Regions from separate parts of the Homo sapiens genome. Here regions 2 and 3 are each linked to region 1. The links are contacts of gene promoters, found by promoter capture Hi-C in blood cells and fetal thymus (Javierre and others, 2016). All regions are on one chromosome and are shown on one strand. Each heading gives the region's core, a stretch centred on a gene start or on the middle of the fragment in contact. The rest is flanking DNA. Distances are from core to core; before and after follow the strand shown.

Evidence for each region. The method cuts DNA at HindIII sites, captures the fragments that hold promoters and counts their contacts. A CHiCAGO score of 5 or more calls a contact.
Region 2: a fragment that was not itself captured here is called in contact with the fragment with the promoter of CHPT1 in region 1 in 1 of 17 cell types (total CD8 T cells); the score reaches 5.3 in total CD8 T cells.
Region 3: a fragment that was not itself captured here is called in contact with the fragment with the promoter of CHPT1 in region 1 in 5 of 17 cell types (M1 macrophages, M0 macrophages, monocytes and 2 more); the score reaches 12.7 in M1 macrophages.

The regions. Positions count from the first base shown.
Region 1 is chr12:101,695,702-101,700,590 of GRCh38, reverse strand. It overlaps CHPT1 (choline phosphotransferase 1), which reads right to left and starts at 2,951. Exons shown (of 9, transcript NM_020244.3): 1 at 2,457-2,951. The coding sequence starts at 2,729. It also overlaps a transcript of MYBPC1 not described here. RefSeq lists silencers at 2,218-2,407, 2,668-3,007 and an enhancer at 3,228-3,477. The HindIII fragment of the contact is 18,657 bases long and covers 1-4,889 here.
Region 2 is chr12:101,274,290-101,279,178 of GRCh38, reverse strand. No RefSeq gene overlaps it. Among named protein-coding and RNA genes, the nearest start is that of UTP20, 3.4 kb to the left of the region's middle. The HindIII fragment of the contact is 205 bases long and covers 1,899-2,103 here.
Region 3 is chr12:101,431,707-101,436,595 of GRCh38, reverse strand. No RefSeq gene overlaps it. Among named protein-coding and RNA genes, the nearest start is that of ARL1, 26 kb to the right of the region's middle. The HindIII fragment of the contact is 3,162 bases long and covers 448-3,609 here.

The DNA of each region.
Region 1 (4,889 bases), core at 1,702-4,201:
CTAGTTCTATGAACTTAAGAGAAAATAGCCAGAAACTGCTACACTCTTCACACTGTTGCTGGGCTTTCACCAAACAAGCAATGTGGATCCTGTAATGGCGTTTCCCCTCCCTGCATCAGTCACTCAGAAGCATATGAAGGTTCTAGTGACATACATTTCAGAAACTCTTGTTTTTAACTCTCATTTACCCTTCTTGGGCCATTTGATTTTGCACTTTATTTTTAAATGCCTCCAATCCCCACCCTCCACCCTTTTTTTTTTTTTTTTCACATGAGGCTGATCCTAAAAACTAATTAATCATAAACGTACCTCTTCCATCAGGCCTCCCTTTACTTCCCTAGGCAGAAGCTCTTGACTTTTTTGGTAAGCCCTGCTCTTTCTAAGTGTTCAACAAATGCTTCTTAAATTAATAATAACATTGAAGAGTCCACAACTTAACTGGCCAATATCAGAAACATTCAAATGCTGTTAGCTAAATCTGGACCCAATCAAAACTAAATTTTATTATGTGTTTTCAGGATGTTGTCTGATAACAGTAATATTTTTAATGTGTTGAGTGATATTTTTAATTTGTTAGGCACATCGCAATCTTTTACATTTATCTGCATATATATCATTTGGTCCTCACTGCATCCTTGTCAAGTTGTTTTGGCAGGCATTATTTTCTATTGTATCTGTGGGAACACAGACCCAGCAGGTCTGTGGTGGAAGAGCCAGTTAGAAACCAAGACCTCCACTTCCAACCCAGCTATCCTTTCATTCTAACACACTCCCTCTGGTAAATTCTAGAAACAGGCAGCAAAACAGCCAAAAACTAAAGCAGCTTACTTTTTCATATGTAATATGTAAATGAATAGCAATGGCAAATGACAATGGGAATGTCTATTAAGAAATATATAATAAGCCTGGCGCAGTGGCTCACTCCTGTAAATACCAGCACTTTGGGAGGCCGAGGCAGGCGGATCACTTGAGGTCAGGAGTTCGAGACCAGCCTGGCCAATATGGTGAAACCCCGTCTCTACTAAAAATACAAAAATTAGCCGGGCGTGGTGGCAGGCACGTGTAGTCCCAGCTATTCAGGAGGCTGAGGCAAGGGAATCGCTTGAACCCAGGAGGCAGAGGTTGCAGTGAGCCGAGATCACCACATTGCCCTCCAGCCTGGGTGACAGAGCGAGACTCTGTCTCAAAAAAAAAAAAAAGAAAAGAAATACATAATAAGCATACCAATCCATTGACAAGATATTTTAAAATGTAGGCTCGATCAAATTTTTGTTTTTAAAGGATGCATGAGCCTGGCCAACATGGTGAAACCTTGTATCTACTAAAAACACAAAAGTGAGTCGGCCGTGGTGGCACGCGCCTGTAATCCCAGCTACTTGGAAGGCTGAGGCAGAAGAATCGCTTGAACCCTGAAGGCGGAGGTTGCAGTGAGCCGAGATCGAGCCACGGCACGGCACTCCAGCCTGGGTGACAGAGTAAACCCCTGTCTCAAAAACAACAACAAAATGGATGCATGCATGGAGGGCATGAAATATTTCCACTGTATTTCTGTTAATCCAACCTCAACCTCCATGAGTCCTCCACAAGGCCTACACTCAAATGATTATAAAGGGACTTCACTATTTGGAGCAGAGAATAGAAAGTAATGTCACAGAATGTGCAATGTAATATTTATCCCACGTAGTATAAACTATAGATGGGAGTGAACTCCACTCTGCCCCCTATCCCTCCACACTCAGCCCAAAGGGTGCTTCTGATGAACAGCTATCCAAAGCCTATATTTACTCCTTATTTTGTACAAAGGTCAAATGTAATTATTGCTAATAAAATGTTGGGGTTTTTTTAATCCCTAGGTTGTGATGACAAAAAAATTATTGCCTTGATAACATTCCAGTTTGTTTTTCTTGAAAAAGTCGATGAAGCAAAGAGGAAGTTACCTCTTAACTCATCTTTGATCAGTGCTACCGGTCATTTCAAGATCACTAGCTCAACCTTCCAGAAACGAACGGTTACGAAAGTATTCAAAGGGCGTCTCGGGCTTGGCACAAGTCCCTGTGCCAGGCAGGACGGAGATGGGGGTGTTCAGTCCCCAGTGTGCAAAGCACCCGACCGCGGGTCCGTCTCACAGGTTGGCGCCGCATGGGATAGCGGCTGGGCAGGCGCCCTCCGGCCCGTCCGCGGCCGTGGGGAGGATCTGCGCGGACATAGGACCTGGGGCAGTGACCTTAACAGCCCCTCCGCTGCCCAGGGGAGGCTTGGGATGGTCACGGGATTGGGATAGTGGCGTGACAGTCTCCAGGCGGCCCAGGGCGGACACCGCCCGGGGCAGTGGCCAGTCCGCCCCTCCGGGGCCCGGGAGAGGCTCAGCCGCGCGTGGGTCCGCCCTTCCCCCGGCGCCTCCAGCGACCCGCCCGCAGCGCATCTGGGGCCCGGCTCGGGCGATCGGCCAGCCCTACCTCTTCGGTGGCCGTGGGACAGTAGGAGATGAGCACGAGCGTGGTGACCACGTTGACGGCGAGCCCCAGCAGGGTGATGGAGTTGGGGGCCATCCAGAGCGGGATCCACTGGAGCAGCCAGGTCCAGTAGAGCTGCAGCGGCGGCTCGAGCAGCGAGACGCCCGCCGCGCTGTAGCGGTGCTCCTCCAGTCGCCGCAGCTGCGCCGCGCTCAGCGGCTCGCTCAGCGCCCTCAGCCAGCGCGGCGCGGACCCGGCCCCGGCGCCTGCCGCCATGGCCGCCTGAGGGCCCCGCCGCCGCCACCGAGCGCAGCCCGCGCCTGGCGCTGGGGGCAGGGAGAGGTGGAGGGAGAGGCTGGCGGCCGGGTCCTGCGACTGCCGGGCTGGACTCACCGGTCGGGCCCGCACGGCGGAGGTCGAGGTCAGGCCGGCCTGCCCGGCTGCCGGGGCCCCAGCCCCAGAAGCTGTGGGGCCGCGGCTGCGGCTCGCGGGTGGGGCGGGGCCTCGGGGAGGGGTCCGGCTGGGGGCGGGGCGGAGGGGGTCCTGCTAGGGGCGGGGAGGCGGGTGCCGCGCTCGCGGGTCACCCTCGGCGCCCGCCAACGGCAACTTGTTATCGGCGATCAAGGTCCTTGACTCCCCAGGGGCCGGCTGCACTGCGCCTGAGGTCTGATGTCTTAACCCACGGCGTCGGATTACGCCCTGAGGTCGTCTCCTCGCGGGCTGCACCACGACCGAGCCGGTTCCTCTCCTAGGGGTCGGAACACGACTCCGGTCGCCCAGTGTTAGCCACTGCAGGACCACGCTGCCCGCAGAGCCTGGGGGTTTTCGTGTGAGAACACAGTTTTGCAGGGCTCGGGTCACGGGGGTGACGGCCCCATCTGTCCTGCTTGGTAAAACACACAAGCACAATTCTCCCTTTCTGTACGGAGGAAGGCGGCCCTGCCATGTATTCGCTCTAGAGACCCATCACTGCGGATTCAGAGACCAAGGTTTTGAAACTGAAAATCAGGGCTTAGAAACACTAACAAGGAGACCGAATGGCTGAAACCCCGATACCTATTTTCTTCAGCGCATTTGATACCAACAAGGGTGAATATTTTTACACATACTCTTCCCTGGAATAAAGGGCAGGAGTGTCCTCCCCCTGCAAGGGGGAACAGGCTGGCTTGCCACACGCATTGGTAGGTCACCGGCCCCTTATCTCACAGTGCACTCACTTGGACAGGGGACATCTGTCATAAACACGTTCTGTTGCACAACCTGAGACAGGCCTGTCACTTGCTTTGCTCTTCACTTCATGGCTCTGATCTGCACGCACTTTCTAAGGCCTAGGACAAGCCAGAAATTGCTTCCAAGACACTTGTGTGGCGCAACCTCTATCGGCAAGTGCAGTTTGCCTCACGGGCTTCGTCAAACACTTGGCACAGGGGTCCACGAACTGCTGCCTGTGTGCCAGACCCAGCCCACCACCTGTTTTCCTACAGCCCTCCAGCTAAGTATGGTTTTGACATTTTTAAATGATTGGAAAAAATCAAAAGAATACAATTTTGTGTTGTGAAATTATATGAAATTCAAAGTTCAGTGCCACGAATAAAGCCATGTTTATTCCTTACCTATTGTTTGGCTGCCTTCATGCTACAAGGGCAGCAGAATTCAGTTGTGACAGACCGTATGGCTGGCAAAGCCTGGACTATGTCCTACTAGGCCCTTTAAGGAAAAAACTGGCAACCACTGCCTTAGAGCAATGAGGGTCTCTACAGACCAAGCGTATATGTCTTAGGAATATGGATCTCCTCATCTTTAGTGTGAAAAACGATGCTGACAAATGCAGGAAAGGAAATGGAATGATGGAGATCCACTTTTAACAATGCTGGTTTATGTGCAGTGAACTTGACAGTAACTACTTTTTAATTTACCGATGCCATGAACAGTCCAAGGAAAAAATCCTTTTCTAGATTAGCCGATTTCACTGTATTAAAGATAATTTTTAATGTACATCAAAAGACGTCATCAAGAGAATGAAAAGACAAGCCATAAACTGGGAAAAGGTATTTCCCTCAAAACCCACAATGAGTAGAACCCAGATTATGTAAAGAACTCCTAAAAATCAATCAGAATAAAAAATAATCAACTGGGCTATGTTCTGTTTCTATAGGAGAAGCCCTGGAACATGGTAATGTTCCAGGGTGCACTTATGAACATGAGTGAATTGCACAAGCATATGTTGACTGAAAAAAAAAAAGAAGCAGGTGTATTAGTCAGCTTGGATTGTCATAACAAAATACCACAGACTGAATAGCTTAGACAACAGGAATTTATTTCTCTCTCACATAAAAGAAGTACAGAATTGGCACTCCAAGACTGGTACGATGTTTCCATGGTCATCAGGAACTCAGGCTTTTCTGTCTCTCTGCTCCAATATCCTCTCTGACTTGT
Region 2 (4,889 bases), core at 752-3,251, 420 kb after region 1:
CCCATTTTACATTCATTCATTCATTCAGCAACTATTTCTTGAGAGTCCTCTGTGGACCAGGTACTGTTCTGGGAGCCAAACGAGAAAGGCAATAATAGTATTAATTAATTATTTGAAAATATTCACAGCCTTCAATTCCTGGGCTAAAGTGAGCCTCCCACCTCAGCCTCCCAAGTAGCTAGGGCTACAGGCATGCACCACCACACCCAGCTCTTTTATTATTATTATTATTATTATTATTATTATTATTATTATTTGTAGAGATGGGATCTTGCTATATTGCCCAGGCTGGTATCAAACTTCTGGACTCAAGCAGTCCTCTTGGCTTGGCCTCCCAAAGTGCTGGGATTACAGGGGTGAGCCACCATGCCCAGACTGGAAATACTTGGTCTGAGATGCTTACATTTTAGTCAAGGAGTGATGTTAAGTAGACAATTGGATATATTGTTGTACAGAGCTCACTGTAGCAGTCTGGGCTGCAGACGTGACTTAAATACACCTAAATACCTCAAGTGTGAGGCATTTGCGACTGGGAAAGAGAGCCAGTAAGGTAGAAACAGACTAGTTATGGCATGGAAGCAGAGCTGGTGGCCAACTATACTGCAAATTCGAGGATAGAGAAGTGGTTGCTGGATCTGACAAGGTGAAGGTCACTGGTGACCTTGCTAAGTACAGTCTAGTTGGAAGAAAGGAAGTGAAATATGCATGGATTGAGGAGGTAATCAGAGTTGAGAAAGTGAACATAACACTTTCAAATTGTTATTGGCATTATCACATCAACATTTTCTGTGTCACCACAGGGTTGTTCTAAATATTTTAATGCCTCCATAGCATTTATAGATTTTTTTATAATAAAATATTGACGTGCCTAATGTTCCATTGGCTTTCAGTAGGCTAATAATTGGTCTTTTTTTTTTAAAAGCCTTTTATGGGTCACAGGGAAATCTAAGAAAGCTGTAGAACTTCTCCCAGAAAGATGCAAAGAAGCTCATCCACACTAAAATGTGCACGTTTCAGAGAGTTAGAAGCCTGCAGTTAACTGAGGGTAGAAGCCCCCACTCAAAGCAATATTTTCCCAACCTGTTGCCAAAATCACCCCCACATCATTGTGCCATTTTCCTTCTCTGCAATTTATTTTTGGTAATGGAGTTAACTGGACAATAAGGAGTGAAGAGAAAAATCAAAGAAACTGAAAGAACTGACACAAGTTATATTGACCATTTATTGTTTGCATTGTTCTTCATTACATGACCCTCACACACTGACTTGACTCTGACTGGCTTAACAATATGTCAATAGAACATGGTGGTTGAGAGCATAGATGCTGGAACCAGGTTGTCTGGAGGTAATCCTGGTTCTGCCATTTATTAGTAGGGTCAGTTACCCTTTCAGAATGACATTTCCGTATATGTAAATGAAGCTAACAAAAGTAGCTACCTCACGGGTGGTGATTATGCAGAGTAAATAAGCTAATGGATAAAAGATGCTTAGAATGTGCCAGACACCATAATTGCGCAAGCTCAGAAATTACTTAACCTTTCTGAGACCCAATTTCCTCATCTATAAAATAGAGATGACAATAATACCAGTCTTTCAAGATACTGTGTTGGTGCATAGAGCATGAAATAAATGTTTGCTAAGTGGATAAATAAATGACCATTTATTCTCTACTACCTGGCTACCTGACAAGTTCCTTAAGGGCTGACACCTTATACTTTTTCAACTTTGTGTCATCAGTTCCCTTGAACATAAGAGTTGTTTAATGAATGTCTGTTGAATTAACAAAGCTTATAATACTTACATTGACCCGGACAAATTTAAGAGTAATATAGTTCCAGCATTGGATGTGAATTGCACCACATGATTTTTGGTATCTCTCAAAACTAAGTTTCTAAGCTTTAATGGAATACCGAAAGCATCCGTGAAGAGCACGAGTGTTTCTTATAAACATTTCCTTGCTTCCAGCGTTTGTCCTCTGTCAAGGTATAGGATGAATATCCTATACCATCCTTTATATCCTTTTTCCATTAGGGCTCTGCCTGTCCTAACTACTCCAGCCAGTAAATAACATACATTATTTTTTCATTCTTTTATTCTTAAGCTTTATAGGGCGCTCCTGGAAGTTTTGCTTTTTAATTTTTGTTTCCTTATTGCTTAGCGTGCTGCAATTTCAAGCCAAGAAACTTTAAGAGCATGTAAGAGCTAGGCCCAGTGGCTCATGCCTGTAATCCCAGAGCTTTGGGAGGTCAAGGTGAGAGGATTGCTTGAACCCAGAAATTTGAGACCAGTCTTGGGCAACAAGGCGAAATCCCATCTCTACAAAAAATACAAAAATTAGCCAGACATGGGGATGTGCACCTGTAGTCCCAGCTACTCAGGAGGCTGAGGTGGGAGGAACACTTGATCCAGGAGGTCAAGGCTCCAGTGCTGTGATCCTGCGACTGCACTCCAGCTTGGGTAACAGAGTGAGACCCTGTCTTGAAAGAAAAAAAAGGAAGGAAGGAGAGGGAGAAAGAAGGGAAAGTAAAGGAAAGGAAGGGAGGGGAGAGGAGGGAAAGGAAGGGAAGAAAGCACATGAGGAGTTTACCCAGCCTAGACAAGAAAGTGGAATCCAGAGAAGGCTTCTTGGGGGAAGTGACATCTAAGCTGAGACCTGGAAAATGAATAGGAATTAGCCAGGCAAGGAATGGACATGAATGGTGTTATCTAGGTAGAGGGAGGAGTATAGGCATTTGTCTCAAAATGGTTGAGACAAATTTGGTTACTTTTAGTTTCCAAGGCAAAGCCACACCCTGTCAAATTAGCATTGGCCATGGGTATCATCTTTAGCATCCTTGGACTAATAATAGGAAAGAATAGGGACAAGATGAAGCTCAGAGGTAAGAAGAGCCTTGGTTTTCTCATCTGTAAAGTGAGATAGACATATGAGAAAGTCAACAGTCATATGAGACAGTTGAAAGATTAACACATTGTATCACTTCTCACAGTCATATGAGACCGTTGAAAGATTAATTAATACATTGTATCGCTTCTCAGCCTTTTGGCTAAGATCAAGTCTAGTAATTAACACATTGTATGTGGTGATCTGGAAGGGGGCAAGTCGACCTAGTGGCATGGTCTTGTTTAGAAAGCAGTTCAAGGAGTGCTGTGTATCAGGGCAGAGAGGATTTGACTCAGAACAAGGGACCAAGGAAGTGAATGTAAAAAAAAGAAAGAGAAGAGAAAGTTTTAGTAATTCTTTGTTGGTTTTTTCTTAAATAGAGACAGGGGTCTCACTACATTGCCCAGGCTGGTCTTGAACTCCTGGGCTCAAGCGATCCTCCTGCCCAGCCGAGTAGTTCTTGACTGTGGTAGTAAGGAAAGCTGATCCACGTATCTCTTCTTGAGAAAACTGTGTATTGTTGACAGTGTGTGTAAATCAGGAAGCAGTGAGAGCATGGAGTTTGGATTTGGGACAACTGGGTCCCAGTTCTAGCATTTTTCATGTATTAGCCAGTAACTGGGCAACTGACTTAACCTTTCAGCCTCAGTTTCCTCATCTTTAAAACAGGCATAATAACTAGTTCTGCCTTTTCCCTTAACGGTTGCTAAGAAGACCATTCGATATAAAGCAGGCAAAGTCCCCTGTAACCAATACAGAGGAGTTACAGAAACACTAAGTATTGTTTCCCTTTGCATTGTGTGATCATGTTCAGCCCTGATACCACAGAGCTTCTATTCTCCTTTCCTTATTTTGAAGCTCAGGCATTAGAAACATTAGACCAGAAATTGCGGATTTGTGGGGCCTATAAGCTCAGGTAGCCCACAGATAAGTTTTGTTTACCAAACATATTCTTCTTCTTCTTTTTTTTTTTAAGAGAGTGTCTCGCTCCGTTGTCCAGGCTGGAGTACAGTGGCACGATCGTCACTTACTGCCAACCTCAAGCTCCTTGGCTCAAGCGATCCTCCCACCCCAGCCTCCCTGGTAGCTACAGATACTACAGGTGTGCATCACCATGTCCAGCTAATTTTAAAAACATTTTTAGAGGTGAGTCTTGCTGTGTTGCCCAGGCTGATCTCGAACTACTGGGCTCAAGTGATCTTCCTATTCCAGCTTCCCAAAGTGCTGGCATTACAGACATGAGCTGCCATGCCCAGCATACCAGATGATATTCTTGAAATTTATTTTTATTTTTTATAATCAGATACTCTCTCAGCAGAATCACAAATGTTTTAATTTGTTAAAAATCTGAAAATTTTAGGTAAAACTCTAGATTTTCAACTTCTCTTGAAAAGTAAAAAAAAAGAAAACTGCAATACTGGGCCCATATTTTGAGAAGCAACAACCAGCTGGAGTTGAGTAGTAGTGGCTCTTTGATGCCACCACTTTGTCTCTGTGCACACCACTCCTTCCTTTTTGTCCTACCCCAGGCCCATGTCATGACTTAAGGTGGATACCTGGCCCCTGTGGAAAGCTCAGTGTGTAGCCTCTGCCTCAGAATATTCCTCAGGCAGAAGGCTGTTCTCGTCTTTGGTTTTAAACATGCCTCATAGGCAGCAGATTATTTTTCTGTTGCTTCTGCAGCTGCTTTTATTGTTTAATGCAGTGAGTGACTCAACTTGTTGTTGCTGTTGTTGTTTCTGTTGTTTGAGACAGACTCTCACTCTGTCTTCCAGGCTGGAGTGCACTGGCGTGATCTCGGCTCACTGCAACCTCCACCTCTCAGGTTCAAGTGATTCTCCTGCCTCAGCCTCCCACATAGCTGGGATTACAGGCACCCGCCACCATACCTGGCTAATTTTTGTATTTTTAGTAGAGACGGAATTTCGCCATGTTGTCCAGGCTGGTCTCGAACTCCTGACCTCAAGTGATCCACCTGCCTCGGCCTCCCAAAGTGCTGGGATTACAG
Region 3 (4,889 bases), core at 779-3,278, 260 kb after region 1:
CCTCCCGAAGTGCTGGAATTACAGGCATGAGGCATGAGCCACTGCGCCCAGCCTATTTCAATATATTTTAAGTAAAATTTTATGGTAATACTTGGCCTTAAAATATGTTTTAGTCCTTGGCAAAGCAATGTGGATTCATTTTTATTTGAAAGGTATATTTTGAGTGACACATTGTGCTATGCTGAAATGAGCCAAACAGGTCCAGCAGCTGCTGTACACTGTGCCTATATGCTTATCCTCAGTCTTTGCATGACTGGTTCCTTCTTACCTCCCACACTTCAGGCTTCAGCTGGAATGTCACCTTCTTTGAGCCCTTTCCTGGCCCTTCTATCTAAAACAGCCTCTTCTTCCTAGTTACACTTTATCACCTTACCCTTCCTCTCCTCCAGAGAATTTATTGCTAACTGTATATATCTTACTTACCTACTTGTTTACATGTTGAAAGCTTCAAGTTGTGCCTCTTTTGGGACAAAGCCCCAGGAGAAAGCATGCCTGGGCTCAATGGCCAGGACTCAGTAAATATTTATTTATTTATTTATTTTTATTTATATATATTTTTAAGATGGAGTTTCACTCTTCTTGCCCAGGTTGGAGTGCAATGGTATGATCTCGCCTCACCGCAACCTCCACCTTCCAGGTTCAAGCGATTCTCCGGCCTCAGCCTCCCGGGTAGCTGAGGTTACAGGCATGCGCCACCGCACCTGGCTAATTTTATATTTTTAGTAGAGACGGAGCATCTCCATGTTGGTCAGGCTGGTCTTAAACTCCTGACCTCAGGTGATCCACCTGCCTTGGCCTCCCAAAGTGCTGGGATTACAGGCATGAGCCACCATGCCCAGCCTTATTTATTTATTTTTGAGATGGAGTCTGCTCTGTCACCCAGGCTGGAGTACAGTGGTGCAATCTTGGCTCACTGCAACTTCTGCTTCCCGGGGTTCAAGTGATTCCCCTGCCTCAGCCTCCCCAGTAGCTGAGATTACAGGCGTCCGCCACCATCCCTAGCTAATTTTTGTATTTTTAGTAAAGACAGGGATTTGCCATGTTGGCCAGGCTGGTCTCAAATTCCTGACCCAGGTGATCTGCCCACCTTGGCCTCCCAAAGTGCTGGGATTACAGGCATAAGCCACCGCACCCGGCTAATTTTTGTATGTTTAGTAGAGACAGGGTTTTGCCATGTTGGCCAGGCTAGTCTTGAATTCCTGACCTCAAGTGACCCACCTGCTTTGGCCTCCCAAAGTGCTGGGATGAATATTTATTGAATGAATGAATGATCAAACATGCATAGTGCCCAAGGGCACACAGCTGTACATGATAAACTTATAATTTAATAGGAGTGTGAATACAGGTTGTGCTTGGAATGGTTGTGGATAGACAGGGGTTCTCCAGCCCTGGAGAGGCAGTTTGTGGGAACAGAAGACTAATAACTGTCCCCTGTATGAATACTTCAGCCTCACTTCTTTCCTTAGCTAGTACTTAACCTCACTTTCCTCAGCTGTAAGTGAGAGCAATAACACCAACTTTGGTGTCCATTAATGGAAGTCTCTTTTCTCCATGCCTGCCAATGAGGCTTACAGGAGGTGCGCTGACTCTACAGGAGCACCTCATTGTGTGTATTTAGGGGATGGCAGGGAAGACTGGAATCACTCATCTTGAGCCAATGGTTACCGTTTCATTAAACGGATTGAGACCCTAATGGGACTGTTGGGAGGTTAGCTAGAGAGGGCCCACCAGAGGTCTATTTGCATGAAAGATCAGGAGCCTTCTAAGAAGGTTCTTATTCTAAGGAATCACTTAGTTACTGTAGGACAAAGCCAATTCTGAATGTTGCATGTTGCTACTCGCTCAGATTTGAAGAGTTTATGTATCATGTTGAAACCAGAACTAAGTTTTTTTTTTTCTCTTTTTTTTTTTTTTTTTTTTGGAGACATCTTACTCTGTCTCCCAGGCTCGAGTGCAGTGGCTCGATCTCAGCTCACTGCAACCTCCCCCTCCCGGTTCAAGCAATTCTACAGCCCCCCAGGTAGCTGGGACTACAGCCACGTGCCACCACGCCCGGCTAATTATTGTATCTTTAGAAGACAAGTTTTCACCATGTTGGCCAGGCTGGCCTCAAACTCCTGACCTGAAGTGATCTGCCCGCCTCAGCCTCCCAAAGTGCTGGGATTACAGGCATGAGCCACTGCACCCGGCCGAGTAAGTTCTTTTGACTTGACACAGAAGTTTTTATGAGACGTGATGGGGAAAGGACTACCCTGCACGGCTTGAACCTTTCTGTGTGTTGGCACATCGGAGAGTGCACCTGAATATCTCCCCATTGTAGGCTGAGAGAACACGCACGCATGGGCTTTGCATGGGGGTTAGGAGTCTTACAGTTTTATGCATAGAAAACAGAGCCTGAGAAATGCTATGTATTATTGTTAATAAATTTCTCCCTTTTCAGTTCATCTTCTTCCCAGTATCTCCCCAACAGAATGTTTTACAGCTGTTGAAAAGAACGAAGTAACTCTACATGTATTGATACAGAATATTTGCCAAGATATGTTATTTTTAAGTGTAAAAAGATACAGAACAGTGTAAATATTATGCTGCTATTTATATTAAAGGAAATATGCATGCATCTGTATATGCATATAATACATTTAGAAAGAAACACAAGACCATTAATAGTAATTAGTTTGGCCAGGCGCAGCGGCTCACGCCTGTAATCCCAGCACTTTGGGAGGCCAAGGAGGGTGGATCACCTGAGGTTGGGATTTCGAGGCCAGCCTGACCAACATGGAGAAACCTCGTTTCTACTAAAAAATACAAAATTAGCCGGGTGTCGTGGTGCATGCCTGTAATCCCAGCTACTTGGGAGGCTGAGGCAGGAGAATCGCTTGAACCTGGGAGGTGGAGGTTGCGGTGAGCCGAGATCGCACCATTGCACTCCAGCCTGGGCAATAAGAGCAAAAGTCTATCTCAAAAAAAAAAAAAAAAGTGATTAGTTCTGAGAAGGAGATTCTGGGTGAGGAAGTTAGGGTTGTAGATATATATATATATATATTTAAAATGATGCATTGCAAAAATAAAATTGAAATTGAAAATGACTCAGCCTGGACAACATAGTGAGACTTCAACTCTACCAAAACATTAAAAAAAAAAAAATAGCCAGGCATAGTGGCACATGCCTGTAGTCCCAAGTGGGAGGATTGCTTGAGCCTGGAGGTTGAGGCTGCAGTGAGCCAAGATCACACTACTTCATTCCAGCCTGGGTGACAGAGTAAGACCCTGCCTCAAAGAAAAAAAAAAATACTGGTGAATTACTCTGAAGTTTCTCATAGTATTGATGACGTACTTACTCTTCCCAAATAATAGGAAAAGAAGAACACGCCATTTAGAGAATAATTTGTAAATATTTTCAGTTTTCATATGTGTATGTGTGTATGTGTTATTTCTTTTTATAAGGAAATTTCTTATTTTGGGTAGGCCAGTTTTTTTTTTTCCCAGAGGCAGAGCACAGAAATAGTGCTGAGGAGGTCTGGTTCTGATGTCAGACAGCTTGGACTCTAATTCTAGCTCTGCTGCTTACTAGCTATGCACCTTGGGCAAATTGCTTAACTTACCTAAGCTTCAATTTCATTGCCTTTAAAATATGGAAGAATAATAGTATTTACTTAATGGTGTTGTTTATAAAGATTTATTTATTTATTTATTTATTTTGGAGATGGAGTCTCACTCTCCCAGGCTGGAGTGCAATGGCGCAATCTTGGCTCACTGTACCCACTGCCTCCCAGGTTCAAGCGATTCTCCTGCCTCAGCCTCCTGAGCAGCTGGGATTACAGGCACCACTACCACACCTGGCTAATTTTTTGTATTCTTAGTAGAGACAAGGTCTTACCATGTTGGCCAGGCTGGTCTCGAACTCCTGACTTCAGGTTATCCGCCTGCCTCAGCGTCCCAAAATGCTGGGATTACAGGTGTGAGCCACCGCACTCAGCTATAAAGATTTTTTTTTTTTTTTTTTTTTTTTTTTGAGATGGAGTCTCGCTCCGTCACCCGGGCTGGAGTGCAGTGGCGCGATCTCGGCTCACTGCAAGCTCCTCCTCTCGGGTTCACGCTATTCTCCTGCCTCAGCCTCCCAAGTAGGTGGGACTACAGGCGCCCACCAGCACGCCTGGCTTATTTTTTTGTATTTTTAATAGAGACGGGGTTTCACCGTGTTAGCCAAGATGGTCTCGATCTCCTGACCTCGTGATCCGCCCGCCTTGGCCACCCAAAGTGCTGGGATTACAGGTTTAAGCCACCGCGCCCGGCCAGCTATAAAGATTTAATGAAGTACAATAGTTGCCCCTTATCTGTGGTTTTGCTTTCCTTGATTTCAGTTACCCACGGTCAACCCTGGTTGAGGAAAATAGGTGAATACAGTACAGTAAGACATTTTGAGACAGAGAGATTACATTCACATAACTTTTATTACAGTGTATTGTTATAATTGCTGTTTTATTTTATTATTAGTTATTGTTGTTAATTTATTTCTGTGCCTAATTTATAAGTTTAACTTTATCATAGGTTTGTAGATATAGGATAAAACAGTATATATAGGGTTCAGGATACTATCTGCAGTTCCAGGCACCCACTGGAGTCATGGAACGTATCCCCTGCAGACACGGGGGGACTATGCAATGCGGTTGAAGCAAACAGCATACTGACTGGCCCACAGTAAGCGCTTGATAAATGTTAGAAGGAAGTACATGTAATGAACATTCAGTGCACACACGATAAGAATCTGTGGGATAAAGTAAACATTTGTTTTCCTTTTTGAAAAGTGTGGCTATCTTGTGACAGATACAGATAATAAAACCCATTTAGAGATATTCCATTTGTCTAATCAACAGTCTAGTAATTGCCAG